Linked DNA regions of Homo sapiens: regions 1, 2 and 3 are each linked to region 4. The links are contacts of gene promoters, found by promoter capture Hi-C in blood cells and fetal thymus (Javierre and others, 2016). All regions are on one chromosome and are shown on one strand. Each heading gives the region's core, a stretch centred on a gene start or on the middle of the fragment in contact. The rest is flanking DNA. Distances are from core to core; before and after follow the strand shown.

Region 1 (3,258 bases), core at 168-2,667, 5.3 Mb before region 4:
TACATTTCTCCTCTCACACAGAAGTATTTAACCTATTGGATTTTTTTGTAATGACGATTTAGTTTAGAAATATGCTGAGCAGATATAGATACGCTAGAATCTATAGCGTATAGTTGTATGTATAGTTGGTGGTCAGGCAGAACGGATAGAAACAATATCTAAAAAGTGATTTCAATACATATATATGTATCTAGTTTTAAGTCAAATTATGGGAAAATCTGGATTTGTGGAAAGCTCTCATTTGTGAAGAGTACCACTAGAATTCCTTTTAAAAATAAGTTCATTTAGGGAAAGAAAAATTATTCTATGTGCTAAAGTTTTAGCTTTATATGTAGTTTTCCAGAAGCAAGTTTACTACATTGAGTGAGATACCCTCTATTTTGCCCTCAGGGAGGAAAAGTGCAGTCCTGCTGCAAGCTTCTGTCTGTGTTCCTTCCCTGAAAGGTCAGCGCTCTGTTGAGGAGGACCCTCTGTTCTCTTTGGGTCGGGTGGGGGGTATGGTGGGGCTAGGGTGATCAGCATGCCTTTTTGTGGTCCTTATCTACTCTAGAGCTCTTATCCTCAAGCAGCTTTGTGACCAAAGAAAAGGTGTTCATGGAGAAGGATCTGGGGAGCCCAGAGGCTGTTCAGGGTTCTCCTCCACACCCCAAAGGCCTGGCACACTGATGCCTTTGGGAAATTGCTGAATGTGCAGAGCCTGCCCATGTGTACCTGCTTTATTCAGGAATGAGATTTCTGACTATATGAAGAAGGAGAAAAGTGTGCTTAGTCAGGGAGTCATGTTGCACAGGTCCTGTCTGAAAACCAAGTAATGTTAGCCTGCAGAGAAGACCATGGAGGTCACCTAATTCAGCCACTTCTGATTCAAGTGGAACAATGGAGGACTGTGATAGTTAAATGACTTCCTGTGTACTTATAAGGTAGTCACAGCAAGGGAGTTTCCAAACGTGGAACTGTCAGCTAAATGTCTACTGGTCACCTCTTGTATCCTTCCACTAACCTACCTTGTACTCTCCCTTGGCCCCTTGAAAACGTGGGATTGGATAGGTTACTTAGAATTTCATTCTAAATTATTTGGAAATATACCTGGAAAATTTGCATATTGTATCAGTGGCTTTTGAGAACATTTGATAATGGTCTAAATTGAAGACTGTTGATGGCCCCATGTTGCTGGTTGTGGAAGAGGCTGCTGTATGAGAATGACACAGGCAAGTTTGCATGGGCTTTTTTTTTTTTTTTTTTTTTTTTGGATATAGGGGTCTTACTCTGTCACCCAGGCTGGAGTGCAGTGGTGTGACCATAGCTCACTGCAGCCTCGACCTTCCAGGCTCAAGTGATCATGATCCCCCCATCTCAGTCTCCCTCGTAGTTGGGACTACAGGCACTCGCCACCACGCCCAGCTAATTTTGTATTACTTGCAAAGATAAGGTCTCACTGTGTTGCCCAGGCTGGTCTCAAACTCCTGGGCTCAAGCTGTCTGTTCACCTCGGCCTCCCACATTGCTGGGATCCCAGGCGTGAGCCACCACACTGGCCTCACATGAGCTTTAATGACAGCTCAGCCTGTCCAGTCAGATGTGTCAGAGGTCCAGGAAGCCTGATTAAGGAGAAAGTTCAGAGGGGCTTGTAGACAGTTGCAATATTATCTGCTTGTGAGTGGGACCATATTTTCATGATTTTTTTTTTCCACACAGTGAACAGTTTTTGTGGACAGATGCTTCTGCCTTCTCATACTCTCTGCTCCAGTTAGCTTGACCTTGAGCCTACTCGCAATGGTACATCGTTGAACCCTTTTCTGCAGCAGATATATAGCCCTGTTCTTCCTTCAAATTTATAGCCTAGAGCAGTCTTGAGAGGCCTCACTTAGGAAGACAGCTTGGCTGGCAAATAAATGTTTGCCAGATGAATGTGTGTTGGACATAGTATGGAGGGATATTCTTGCTTTATTAGATAAAATTTGATTTTCCCTGTAAATGATTATTTATGAGATAAAACATAAACTAAAAATGATTCATTTCCATCAAGTGCAAAGTTAGCTGCAAAACATAACATTCTTCCTTTATGTCACACAGGGAAATTAATGGCCTGGAAATGTACAGCTGCTCAACCAGTTTACGAGCCATTAGTACCTAGTGTACTGGCAGTGAGCCCCAGTTAGCCATGGAAACCAGCTTGCAGCTTTCTTAACTCTGTATAGGAGAAATAATTGATGATTCAGTAACATTAATGATCATATTTACAGCTTGATGTTTAATTAGGTTTCTTTACCCTCTTATATCTGAAGGGGTTAATTGCAACAGGATGCTAAAAGCTGGACTATGACAAGTTTAGGCAAAAATCCAGGCTAATTTTTTATTCTTATCACAAATGGAAAATGTTTATACTTGTGGAAGGTACTGTTCAACTCCACAAATATGAAAGCTTCAGAGTTTTAGTCTCACCAAGAAAGTAAATTTTTCCAATACTGTAGAAGAAGTGTGTCTTTTAAAATCTCATTTAGGTAACATTGAGTGTTACATGCAGAAATGAAAAAGCTTCAAAACTCTGGAGATTTCTTCTCAAACATGACATTGTAAAATGATTAGGCTCTCAAAATTAATTGGTTGAACAACTAAAACATAAAGCTTGTTTAACAAACGTGACTGTCTTCCATGTCCCTGGCCCTATAGATGCAGCGGTAAGTGGGATATGGGGTTTAGAAAGGTTTCTCGGAAGAGATGATCCTTGTAGTGAGTCTTAGTGGGATGATCAGGAGCTAGTCCTGCCAGTGATCCTTCTTCCAGTCTTACCAAGCCATATGTGCAAAGGCTAGAAAGTGAGAGGAAGCACAGTCTGTCTGGGAAACTCCTGGAGTCCAGTCCTCTCAGCTGGGATGGGGGTGTGAGATCTGCTGGAGTCAAAGTACAGATTCAAGGAGAACCCAGCAGTTTGGAAAAAAGGACAGAAAGTTGTAATTAGGGCCAGACCAATTGTTAAGGCAAATGTCTTATTCCCAGTTTTTGTGAACTGTTGTTCCTCAAGAACCACTGGGCATGTGGGGGAAAGCCCCAGGAGTTTTATGAGGTAGTAATTTCCCCATCACTGCAAGTGTCCATGAAGAGACAAACTCCCAGGTCATAGATATTGTATAGGGATGAGGCCATGGGGAAAATGACGGTGGGGAATTCTGCATTGAATGAGAGTCTGGACTGACCTTCAAAGATTTTTTTAGAGTGCTAAAATGAAAAATATCTCTATTTGGAAACCCGCAGAAAATGC
Region 2 (3,170 bases), core at 452-2,951, 5.4 Mb before region 4:
GAAAATAAAATTCCTGTCCAATGACAACCAGGAAGGCAGATGGGGGTGAGCTCGAGCTGTGTGAGGAGGCCGCTGATGACCTGGAGCTTAGGGGTGTGCTGACCCTCATCTCCCTGGGGATTCCCAGGAGACGCTGCCCTACCTGTAGCTGCAACTCATGGACCCTGTTACCCAGCCAAGTGCAATGGAGGGCTGGCGAGGGAAGAAAGATCAAAGGAAGAAAAGAAAGGTTCTTTTTTATTTCAAGTATGAGAAAAAGAGAGTTCTACTGTGAGAACATCAACTCTTCTGTAGCTATTGATGTAGCCAAACTCCTGGAATGTAACTATATCTAACAGTGTTTCTCTGAGAAACTTTTACAGGATTGGAATGTGTGTAGTATCTAGTTAACCTGCTATTTTATTGCAAGTGATTTTTTCAAGTTATTAATTGAAATAGGAGTCTACCGTAAGTTGCTCTTAACTTGGGGAACTACTTTGAATGGCATTAATCTGGACCATTAATAACAATGTATACTTGGGGATTGTGTGTGTGTGTGTGTATACATGTGTGTGCATATATGTGTGTACACACACGTGCACACACACGTGCGCGCACACGTGCACACACACACGTGCACACACACACGTGTACACACACACGTGTACACACACACGTGTGTTACTGTACGTGGAGACTGTACATCTTAGGTCACACACCACCCCTGAACCAATCCTACAAACACCATAGGTGATACACACTGTCAAAGACAAAGAGTAGATGTCCACAATAGCTGTTCTTTCTCGTTTATAACACTTCTTTTACCTAGTAATAATCAGCTACCATTTACTCGATACATACTGTGTGCTGCCTCTTCAACCTTTTGACCATTTAAACTACAGGAAACTAGGTTATCTTCAGGTTACCTTAGTTATGGGAGTGTATGGAAAACATTAATGGGAAGGTGAAAGCGCAGCAAACCACTTCAGCAGTTAACAGAAAGGCTCTCAGAGCACTGGACCGCCAATCAGGACACAGCAGCAGCTCTGGGATTCGACCACAGATTCTCTGGCGTGCCCTTCGGGAAAGGGTGGCCTCGGGCCCCCTACTCTACAGAGTCTCCTCCCACGGCTGCCCAGTTCCCTGGCCGACTATCTTGCCTCCACCACATCACCATCAGTACCGGGCGGCTGCAGGGCAGAGCTGTCCAGGGACCTCCTCACAGCCTCCAGAGTCAAGAAATGCCTCCTCAGGGAAGCCCTCTACCGCATCCCTGACCTGTGAGTCACGGAGCTCCCGGGCACCATGCTGGCCACAAATGCCTAAGGAGCCCCCCGGAACCAGCTGTGGGTCCCGCAGGCACTCGCAGGCTAGCGGACACCTTTGGAGGACTGAGAGACCTGTCCTGCAATCCAATGTTCCTCACTCTCACAAGATTTTACAGACGTGGAAACCGAGGCCCGAGGCCCCAAGGGGTAATCGGCCCGCCTTCCCATGCCAATAACCGGCAGTGGCGGGACCCACACCTACTCCGTGACCTGCAGGCCCAGGGGTCGAGCCCCAGGTAGAACGTCTAGACGGACTCCGCCCTTAGCGCCGTACGGGGAACCTTCTCCCGGACGCAGACACGGAAGCGGAAGTGCTGCCGAGCTGTAGCTATGGAGACGTGGGGGGCGGGCCGCCCGGAGAGCGCGACCTTTGACCTGCAGTAGAGCCTACGTCAGAGGCTGGCGCAAACAGAAGTGCAGCGGTGGCGGCGGCTGGTTGCGGGCCGGCGGCGGGCTGGCGGAGATGGAGGTAACTCAGGTCGGGCCCACTGCCTCCCATCAAGCCTTCCGCGCCGCGATTTGGGATGTGGGAGTGGGCCCGATGGGAGGGCGCGGTAGTCTCCCTCTTGGTGTCCCGAAGCCCGCGCTGCTGTCGCCTCCCCATCTTTCGTAAACTCTATCCCTGGGGGTTACCTGCCCCGTAGAGCCCGTTTGTGTACGAATTGCCACAGCGACCGCCTCCGTCCGCCCTCATTCTCTGTCTCACGAGGCTTTCCACCACTTGATTCCATAGAAGGTTTTTCCCTGTAAGGGTTCTACGCGTTCCGTGTGGAATTAGGAAAAGAGTTCTTCTGACACCTGGGTTTGATTTTGTTTTGCAGGATCTTGTTCAAGATGGGGTGGCTTCACCAGCTACCCCTGGGACCGGGAAATCTAAGGTGAAGAGAATACTTGAATAGCGGGCTTCCTGAAGAGTGGAAGGGTGATGAATTGGAAAACTTTGGCATGGGGAAGGGGGGGGCGCTGATTTTTTTTTTTTTAATAGCCTTGCTCCAAGGGATCTCAATTTTAGTGTGCGCAATCGCCCATTTCCTGTTTCTCCCCCGCCCACCCCGATATAGAAAGACTTTTTGTTTGCTTCCTGCTCCTGGTTAGCACTGCTGGGAGATCCTGCTATTTTTCGAACATAAAGCAGTCTAAGAAGGTTTATATAGTGGTGTAGTGGAAGGAGCAGTGACATAGGGTAGGAATCAAGGGATTCTGATCTGTGGGCTCCAGTTTCTACATTGCCAAAGAGTTTAATTAGTCCAGTTTTATGGCCCTGTACAATGTTTAACATTCAATCATTCTAAATGATAGTGGTTTATTGCTAAGGTTTATTGTGTGCATGCTAAATTTCTGGCGCTTGCCTAACCACTCAGTTCCTTCGTTTAAGCTTCATGATAACCATGAGATAGGTACTGTTGTTACCCTCCTTTTACAGATGAGAAACCTGAGACCACAGGCTTAAGCAATTTTCTCAAGTGGTAAAGCTCAATTTTTTAATTAAAGCCTGAATGTTACCCGGTTCATCTTGCTGCTGTAATTATGCGTAAATTTTCTTGTGACCAAAGACTTGCAGCCTTGAATAGAATGAAATAATTTTACAGCTCCAAGGAATTTTAAGTAGCATTAGCTCCAACCTACTGATTTTACAATTAAATCAAAAGCTAGCAATGTCAACCTGTAACATTAGCTATAAGAGGATATGGCCTGGTTTTTACGTTTCATAGTAGTTGCATAACTAATTTTTAGTAGTTGCATAGCAATTACAGAATTGACGTTGCATTTGCTGATTTTAAAAAATGTGGCCGGGCGCGGTGGGTCACGCCTGTAATCCCAACACTTTGGGAGGCCGAGGCGGGCAGATCACCTGCGGTCAGG
Region 3 (3,491 bases), core at 992-3,491, 5.1 Mb before region 4:
TTTTTTCAGGGAGGAGATATCACCAAACATGATGGAACAGGCGGACAGTCCATTTATGGAGACAAATTTGAAGATGAAAATTTTGATGTGAAACATACTGGTCCTGGTTTACTATCCATGGCCAATCAAGGCCAGAATACCAATAATTCTCAATTTGTTATAACACTGAAGAAAGCAGAACATTTGGACTTTAAGCATGTAGTATTTGGGTTTGTTAAGGATGGCATGGATACTGTGAAAAAGATTGAATCATTTGGTTCTCCCAAAGGGTCTGTTTGTCGAAGAATAACTATCACAGAATGTGGACAGATATAAAATCATTGTTGTTCATAGAAAATTTCATCTGTATAAGCAGTTGGATTGAAGCTTAGCTATTACAATTTGATAGTTATGTTCAGCTTTTGAAAATGGACGTTTCCGATTTACAAATGTAAAATTGCAGCTTATAGCTGTTGTCACTTTTTAATGTGTTATAATTGACCTTGCATGGTGTGAAATAAAAGTTTAAACACTGGTGTATTTCAGGTGTACTTGTGTTTATGTACTCCTGACGTATTAAAATGGAATAATACTAATCTTGTTAAAAGCAATAGACCTCAAACTATTGAAGGAATATGATATATGCAATTTAATTTTAATTCCTTTTAAGATATTTGGACTTCCTGCATGGATATACTTACCATTTGAATAAAGGGACCACAACTTGGATAATTTAATTTTAGGTTTGAAATATATTTGGTAATCTTAACTATTGGTGTACTCATTTATGCATAGAGACTCGTTTATGAATGGGTAGAGCCACAGAACGTATAGAGTTAACCAAAGTGCTCTTCTCTAGAATCTTTACACCTCCTGTGTGGTTACAAGTTAACTTTGTAAGTAGCGTACCTTCCTTCCTTAAAATATCTAGCTTCCTGTGCCCTTTCATAGATATTCGATTAATTTTTACATTTTAAACAAGTTGACTATTTCCTTTAGGGGTTTTGTTTCAAACTTTTCTGTCATCTGTCTCTACTACCTCAGAAACTGCAGCTTGGTTCTGATGATAGAAATTGAATTTTTCCTTGTAGTTATTGTGATAAAGTATGAATATTTTTAGAAAGTCTATACCATGTTCTTTCGTTAAAGATTTGCTTTATACAAGATTGTTGCAGTACCTTTTTCTGGTAAATTTTGTAGCAGAAATAAAATGACAATTCCTAAGAGCCACTGACATCCAAAAAATTCATTACTTACGCTTCGGGTTCATTCTAAAGTAAGGAAGACAATTTAAAGGCAGTAAATTCAAACTGCTGCATAATTTCCAGAGCTCCTAGTTTCTCAAGTTTGATACACACCAAAAACGTATTTGGAAATGGCTTGTATCAAATGTTAGGCAAATTGCTAAAGAAAAGAGGATGTTCTTATTGGCCTACTCAATATGGAACTACAAAGAATCCAGGTAGAACACAAAATTTTGTATATTGCAATTATGAATATTGACTGTCTTCCACCCATCTGTGTTCTTTCGGGTGAAATTACCTCATTTTATTTAGTGAGGAAAGACAGGTTTATTCCCTGTTACATGGGGATTTGGAAATTGGGTATCCTAAAGCAAGTAACTGTTCAACCACCAGTCAAAAGAGGGGAGGGATGTTGTGCGAGTAATGAGTGATGGTATACCATCACCATTCCACTCGGCCACAAAGCCAGATACTTGAAATAAACCTACTCCAAATGTATCAGTTCAGTCTTGAACCATGGATTACATATGTTTACACTAAATATTTCAAATTGGCTTATTTGGAAATCTATGTAATATAAACTGATGTAAAGTGTGTTGTAACTTTTCAGCTGAGACAGTTGATGCCTTCGTCATGATTTTAGAATAAATTCTTAAGTTAATGCAAGTGCTTTTTAAGAGACTTTTTACAGATTTGTATGCTTTCCTAAAGCACTAAAGTTACAAATTAAAAAGCTTTAAAAACTTTGACCAAAAATTTGACAAAATGACATGTAAACTGACTTTTCCCGTATTAGTATTCCAAAGATGCTTAAAAGTGGCTTGTGGCATTTATGAGAAAGTCTTTGTGTCACATTTCAGGAAAGGACTTTGATTTCTCTTTGTTATTTAATCACTGATGTGGTCTAAACCCACGATAATATGTATCTTTCCTTTTAAACTGGATTTTATGTTGTCTCATTAAAATCTGCTTAAAGATAGAATAAAATTCATTATTTGTACATCTTAAGTGGTACTTTATGGCAAAAAGTATGGCCTAAGTAATTTTCAGATAATAACTGCTGAAGTACAGATTTTATAAAACTTGGGCATTTGGGAACTTTAATCCAGAGAATTTAGGAGTTGTTAGTCCAGAGATGCAGCTGACAGTCACAATTTAGAAAGTAAAAGATTACACCACTGTAATTTTATGAATGAGAAAAATGAAGTGGTTGTACAGTTCCCCTCAGTCAGTTTTGTTTAACATAGGTTTTCAGGTTGATGTATACTATGTACTATGGTTAGCACTGTTGTAGGTATTGGCAAAAGCTTTTTTCTTTTCAAAAAAAAAAAGTTTTTTTTCCAGGGTGCTTACATTCTAACTATTCTTTTTAATACCCTGTTATACCCCATATGGAACACAGGGAAAGTGAGGTAATCTGCAATGTCTATGCTCAGCTTTCCCTTTTTTTTTTTTTTTTTAACTTTAAGAGATGGGAGTCTTGCTATGTTACCCAAGATAGATGTAACTCTCAGGCTCAAAGCAATGCTCCCGCCTCAGCCTCCTTAGCAGCCGGGACTACACGCGCGCCACCACTCCCGGCTCAGATATACTCTTGGTTTTTCTTTTATATGGCAGTTAGCAAAGGTCACTTCTGATGGAACGACCGGTCTATGTGGTGAGCGCAACGCACACCAAACTTAACAGGTTAAATGGAGCTGGAGCGGAGCGCTGCAGGCAGGTGCGGGGCCTCGGTGCCCCTCAACCCGTGGCACCCAGGCAGCCGGGGCAGGACTATCGCGGGGAGATGCAATACTACTCAGTTACGAGGTGTGTAGTGCTAGCACGAGAAACTTGGAGGACGCGCTGACAAGCCGGGCTGCAGTCTCCGGGTCGCCCCGCCCCGCCCTTTCCCTGCCGCCGTGCGTGCCTCGGGGGGGCGGGGTCTGGCACGTCGTGACGCACTGCGGCCGCGTAGCGCCGCGGGTTTGATGAACGCGGTTCCCGGGGAGACTGGTACGGTTGCTGTGTGCTATGGAGCCGAGGGTCGTCAAGCCACCGGGGCAGGATTTAGTAGTGGAGAGTCTCAAAAGCCGCTACGGACTCGGGGGCAGCTGCCCCGACGAGGTGAAGCCGCCGCCTGAGGTCCGCGGGTGGGCTCCTGCTGCTGGGGGGCGGCCCGCTCCGTGCCCCGCGCAGCCGGCCTGGGGGCGCGCAGCGGCTCTGGTCCCGGCCCCGGCACTCCCGCCGTGGCTGCGGCTTGGGCCTCGTGGAAGCAGGCGGGAGGGG
Region 4 (3,416 bases), core at 161-2,660:
AGACCCCGTCATAATAGAGTAGGTAAGCAATGCTTACCTGTCAAATGAATGAATGAAACACCCGATTCATCCCCCAAGCCAGCTTAATACATTAGATGATCTTATGGACTGAATAAGACATCCCTCCTTTTAAAGAATATTTTTGTTTTAGCTTCACATCAGCAAACCCCGAACGGTTCATCCTAAGATAAGCCTGGTAGAGAGGAAAGATACTAACCTTCTAGGGTCCTAAAGTGGAACTAGGAACTTATTAGATATGCACATTCTCAGGCATTATTTCCGATAGCCCAGTCAGAGAATTCTGGGGGTATGGCCCAGCAATCTGTTTTAACAAACCTTTCAGGTAATTCTGATACACACTAAAGTTTGAAAGGTTTCTTTAAGGCTTTCCAGTTTTCTTTTCTTTTTTGGAGGGATGGGGGGGGGTCTCCCCATGTTGCCCAGGCTGGTCTCGAACTCCTAGCCTCAAGCTATCCTATCCTCCCACCTCGGCCTTCCAAAGCATTGAAATTACAGGCATGACCCACTGCGGCTCGCCTCCGTTTCTAACTTAAAAAAATTTTCTTTGGAGGGGAGCCTTAATCCTTTCTATTATCCTGCTAGTAGAATCTTACTACTCCTGAGGGTAATCTTTGTCATAATCCAAAAGCCTTGAATAAAGGCCTATTTGTATAGTTATGCAGAATATATTCCTGGGAGGTTTGCCTTCCTAGGAGCACAGGTCGGCCCTGGGAGGTGGGGGTTGGGGGGCAGGGCTGCATTCTAAAGTCCTGTAACAACGCACAAGTACAACTGAATAGAACTCGGAACAAAGGCATCAGGGCCACGGTGCAAGTCTTTGTTCATCCGTTCCCCGACTGCTCACCCTGTCTGATACCGCTCTTTTCCACCCAGAAAAGCAGCCACTCAAGTTTTAAGAATGGATGTATGCCGCGGACGTTTTCGATTAGGCCGTTTTCTCTCAGGCACTGGAGGATATTCGTGGCTGCAGGAGGCGCTTCCACCCTTTCCTCAACCTAGCAAAGAAGTAACTGAAACTAACCCAAGGGTTACAACCGAAAAGCCCCTTCCAGCTTCAGAAGCAGAACTGGAAGCTCGGATAGACTTCTCCGCCTCTACACTCCTGGAAAACCCGCAGTGGATTTCACCAACTTCAGGATCGGAGCCCAGGCAGGCGAACGTACCTTATTGCGCATGCTCGCTAGCCCCTCCCGCTCGGAGCGGAAGGGGGAGCGCTGGGGGCCTGGGCCTGGCCTGGCCGGGGCGTCGGCACCGGCGGCCATCTTGGCTTCCCGGGGAAAGGCGGCGTGAGGGGAAGAAGTTGTAGGGTGGGGGCAGGAGTGAGGAGGAGGGAAGAGAGAGGGGGAGGAGGCCGCGGCGGGGCAGGGCGGGGACTGCCTGCCTGCCTGGGTTGCGGAAGTGATAGCCGCCGACCGAGCCTGCTGCTTTCTTGCTACTGCTTCGGCTTCCCGGCTACCCCCCGGACGGTGAAGGCGGCCCAGCTGTGGATGGTCAGATAGCCCTTGTCTCCCGCCGCCAATCTCTGGCCCCTAGCAGCACGGAGCAGACGGCGGCAGCAGCAGCAGCAGGCGAGGAGGAAGATGGCGGGACGGCTGCCGGCCTGTGTGGTGGACTGTGGCACGGGGTAAGGGGGCTTACGGGCGGGGGTGGGGAAACTGAGGCGGAGGAAGGAAGATGGCGGGGGAGGGAGGAGGCCGGGAAATGAATGGTGCGGCGAGGTGCCGCCGCCGGCTGTCAGTCCTAGACCCGCCGGCCAGCGAGGGGTGGGGCCCGCAGCCAGGGCCTCGCGGGTCCCCTCGTTTCTCCCTCCTGGGACTGGGGCGGGGGCGCGGGCCCGAGATTCAACCCCCAACCCTCCCAGCGGCTTTCTCCGCGCGACCCCTCCCGGCCCTTCCCCCACTACGGTGGGCAGCGCCGCCCAAAGGGCGCTGGGGACGGTCGTCTTGGGGGTGGTCCCCGGGCCCGACCCATCCGGCTTTCCTTTCCCTCCGCGCCCGTTTTTGCCAGTCGGTTTGGGGACCCAGGGGCCGAGCTCGGGGACTGGCCTGGCAGGGGAGCTAGAAAAGAGAAGCGCTCCTGGTAGGTTTGACAAGATCGCTGTGACAACATTCTGCCCAGGGTGTGGGTGGGGAAAGGGAAGAATCGGACTCTGAAAATGGGAACCTACAGTGGGGCTTTCATTTGACCACCCACCTTCTCCTTTCGACTCCTGGTCATTTCCATCTCCCTCTGCGTTTTAACCGGTGAACCAAGTCACATTTTAATTCGAGGGAGAAAGATGTCATGTGTTACTTCTGTAGCCTCAAAAAAGTCCCCCAGTGAGCAAGCGCGCTGCAACTTCCTTAGTTTTGTCAAAGCCGCTTCCTGCTTTCAGTCTTTTATACCCTTATAAGGTAGTTTTTAGTTTCCAACCTGAGCACATCTTACTAGAACTTTTAAGCAGGTTTTAAAGAGACTGAATTACCGGTGCTTGGTGTCCATTTATATGACTTAAAAAAATGTACTTATGTTTCATGGAGTGGGGGAAAGGAAGCACCCTGGAAAATAAACTAATTTAAGTTGTATTCGTTCATTCTGTGATGGTATCTTGAAGGAAGCAGGAAGGTATAGAGGTATATAGGAGGGTGTTTAAGTTGCAAATAGTTACTCGTAGATATGTAGGGTAGTTTGCGAAAATGTAGAGTGGCTTTAAAGTGTGGTCGTTCATTTTGTATTAATAGACGTTTTAGAGAGTTGTACCACACTCATAACTGCATAGAGAATAGACTACCCTTATTTTTATGTAGAATCACTGCTTCAGGATGACATATAGGAAAGTGGTTTTTTTTTCTGTGCTGATGACATCTCTCCAATTCCCAGAACACTCCCAGTTTTTTTTTTTTGAGGGGGAAGTCAGTAAGAGGTGGACTGTCAGGCTTTTTTTTTTATTATTAATTATAATTATTGATTTCATTATTGTTACTTAAAAGATTGTGTGTCCTTCACTCTTTATGTGAAATTTCTTTAATCTTCATTCTCATAACTAGCTAGTGTGGCAGTTTCTAAAATCCCAGTTAGGTAGAGAGAAACCACCAACTTCTTAATATTCTCCTAGGAAAACACTAGCCTTGGAACTTCTATGTATTTTTTTGATGAACACTTTATTTAAAAGTTTTTCCTTAATTCAGTCTCATTTCTCTGAACCAATAATTTTTTTTATTTCTCCCTTCTTAGTCTAATTGGTGAGTATTTTTATGTCTAGGTTCAGTTTTAAAATTAGATTTGGCCTGAGTCAGTAGGATAGGACTTTTCAAATGTGTTTTGTTAAAGTGACGAATATTGCTACATAATTAATGCTTTAGAAATTACTGCGTTTTCAAAAAAATAGTGTAAATAATTGTGGCCCTGAGAAATAA

What was found. The method cuts DNA at HindIII sites, captures the fragments that hold promoters and counts their contacts. A CHiCAGO score of 5 or more calls a contact.
Region 1: a fragment that was not itself captured here is called in contact with the fragment with the promoter of ACTR3 in region 4 in 2 of 17 cell types (activated CD4 T cells and M0 macrophages); the score reaches 5.9 in activated CD4 T cells.
Region 2: the fragment with the promoter of GCC2 here is called in contact with the fragment with the promoter of ACTR3 in region 4 in 2 of 17 cell types (naive CD8 T cells and fetal thymus); the score reaches 12.0 in naive CD8 T cells.
Region 3: a contact is called between a fragment that was not itself captured here and the fragment with the promoter of ACTR3 in region 4, in 1 of 17 cell types (fetal thymus). The highest score is 5.2, in fetal thymus.

What each region holds. Positions count from the first base shown.
Region 1 is chr2:108,614,974-108,618,231 of GRCh38, forward strand. The region is part of intron 1 of LIMS1 (LIM zinc finger domain containing 1); the gene reads left to right. Among named protein-coding and RNA genes, the nearest start is that of LIMS1-AS1, 62 kb to the right of the region's middle. The HindIII fragment of the contact is 2,004 bases long and covers 416-2,419 here.
Region 2 is chr2:108,447,505-108,450,674 of GRCh38, forward strand. GCC2 (GRIP and coiled-coil domain containing 2) reads left to right here and starts at 1,702. Exons shown (of 23, transcript NM_181453.4): 1 at 1,702-1,776; 2 at 2,129-2,185. The coding sequence starts at 1,771. RefSeq lists enhancers at 642-1,624, 1,529-1,788, 1,625-2,606, 2,692-3,170. The HindIII fragment of the contact is 5,578 bases long and covers 1-2,680 here.
Region 3 is chr2:108,783,587-108,787,077 of GRCh38, forward strand. It overlaps RANBP2 (RAN binding protein 2), which reads left to right. Exons shown (of 29, transcript NM_006267.5): 29 at 10-2,223. The coding sequence ends at 315. CCDC138 (coiled-coil domain containing 138) reads left to right here and starts at 3,185. Exons shown (of 15, transcript NM_144978.3): 1 at 3,185-3,329. The coding sequence starts at 3,237. RefSeq lists a silencer at 2,994-3,491. The HindIII fragment of the contact is 573 bases long and covers 1,956-2,528 here.
Region 4 is chr2:113,888,679-113,892,094 of GRCh38, forward strand. ACTR3 (actin related protein 3) reads left to right here and starts at 1,411. Exons shown (of 12, transcript NM_005721.5): 1 at 1,411-1,645. The coding sequence starts at 1,602. It overlaps ACTR3-AS1 (ACTR3 antisense RNA 1), which reads right to left and starts at 2,314. Exons shown (of 5, transcript NR_110174.1): 1 at 2,215-2,314. It overlaps LOC124906071 (a long non-coding RNA gene), which reads right to left and starts at 1,089. Exons shown (of 3, transcript XR_007087205.1): 1 at 1-1,089. RefSeq lists enhancers at 782-1,091, 1,212-1,301, 1,334-1,989, 2,072-2,121, 2,172-2,351 and silencers at 1,382-1,441, 1,682-1,941. The HindIII fragment of the contact is 5,488 bases long and covers 1-3,416 here.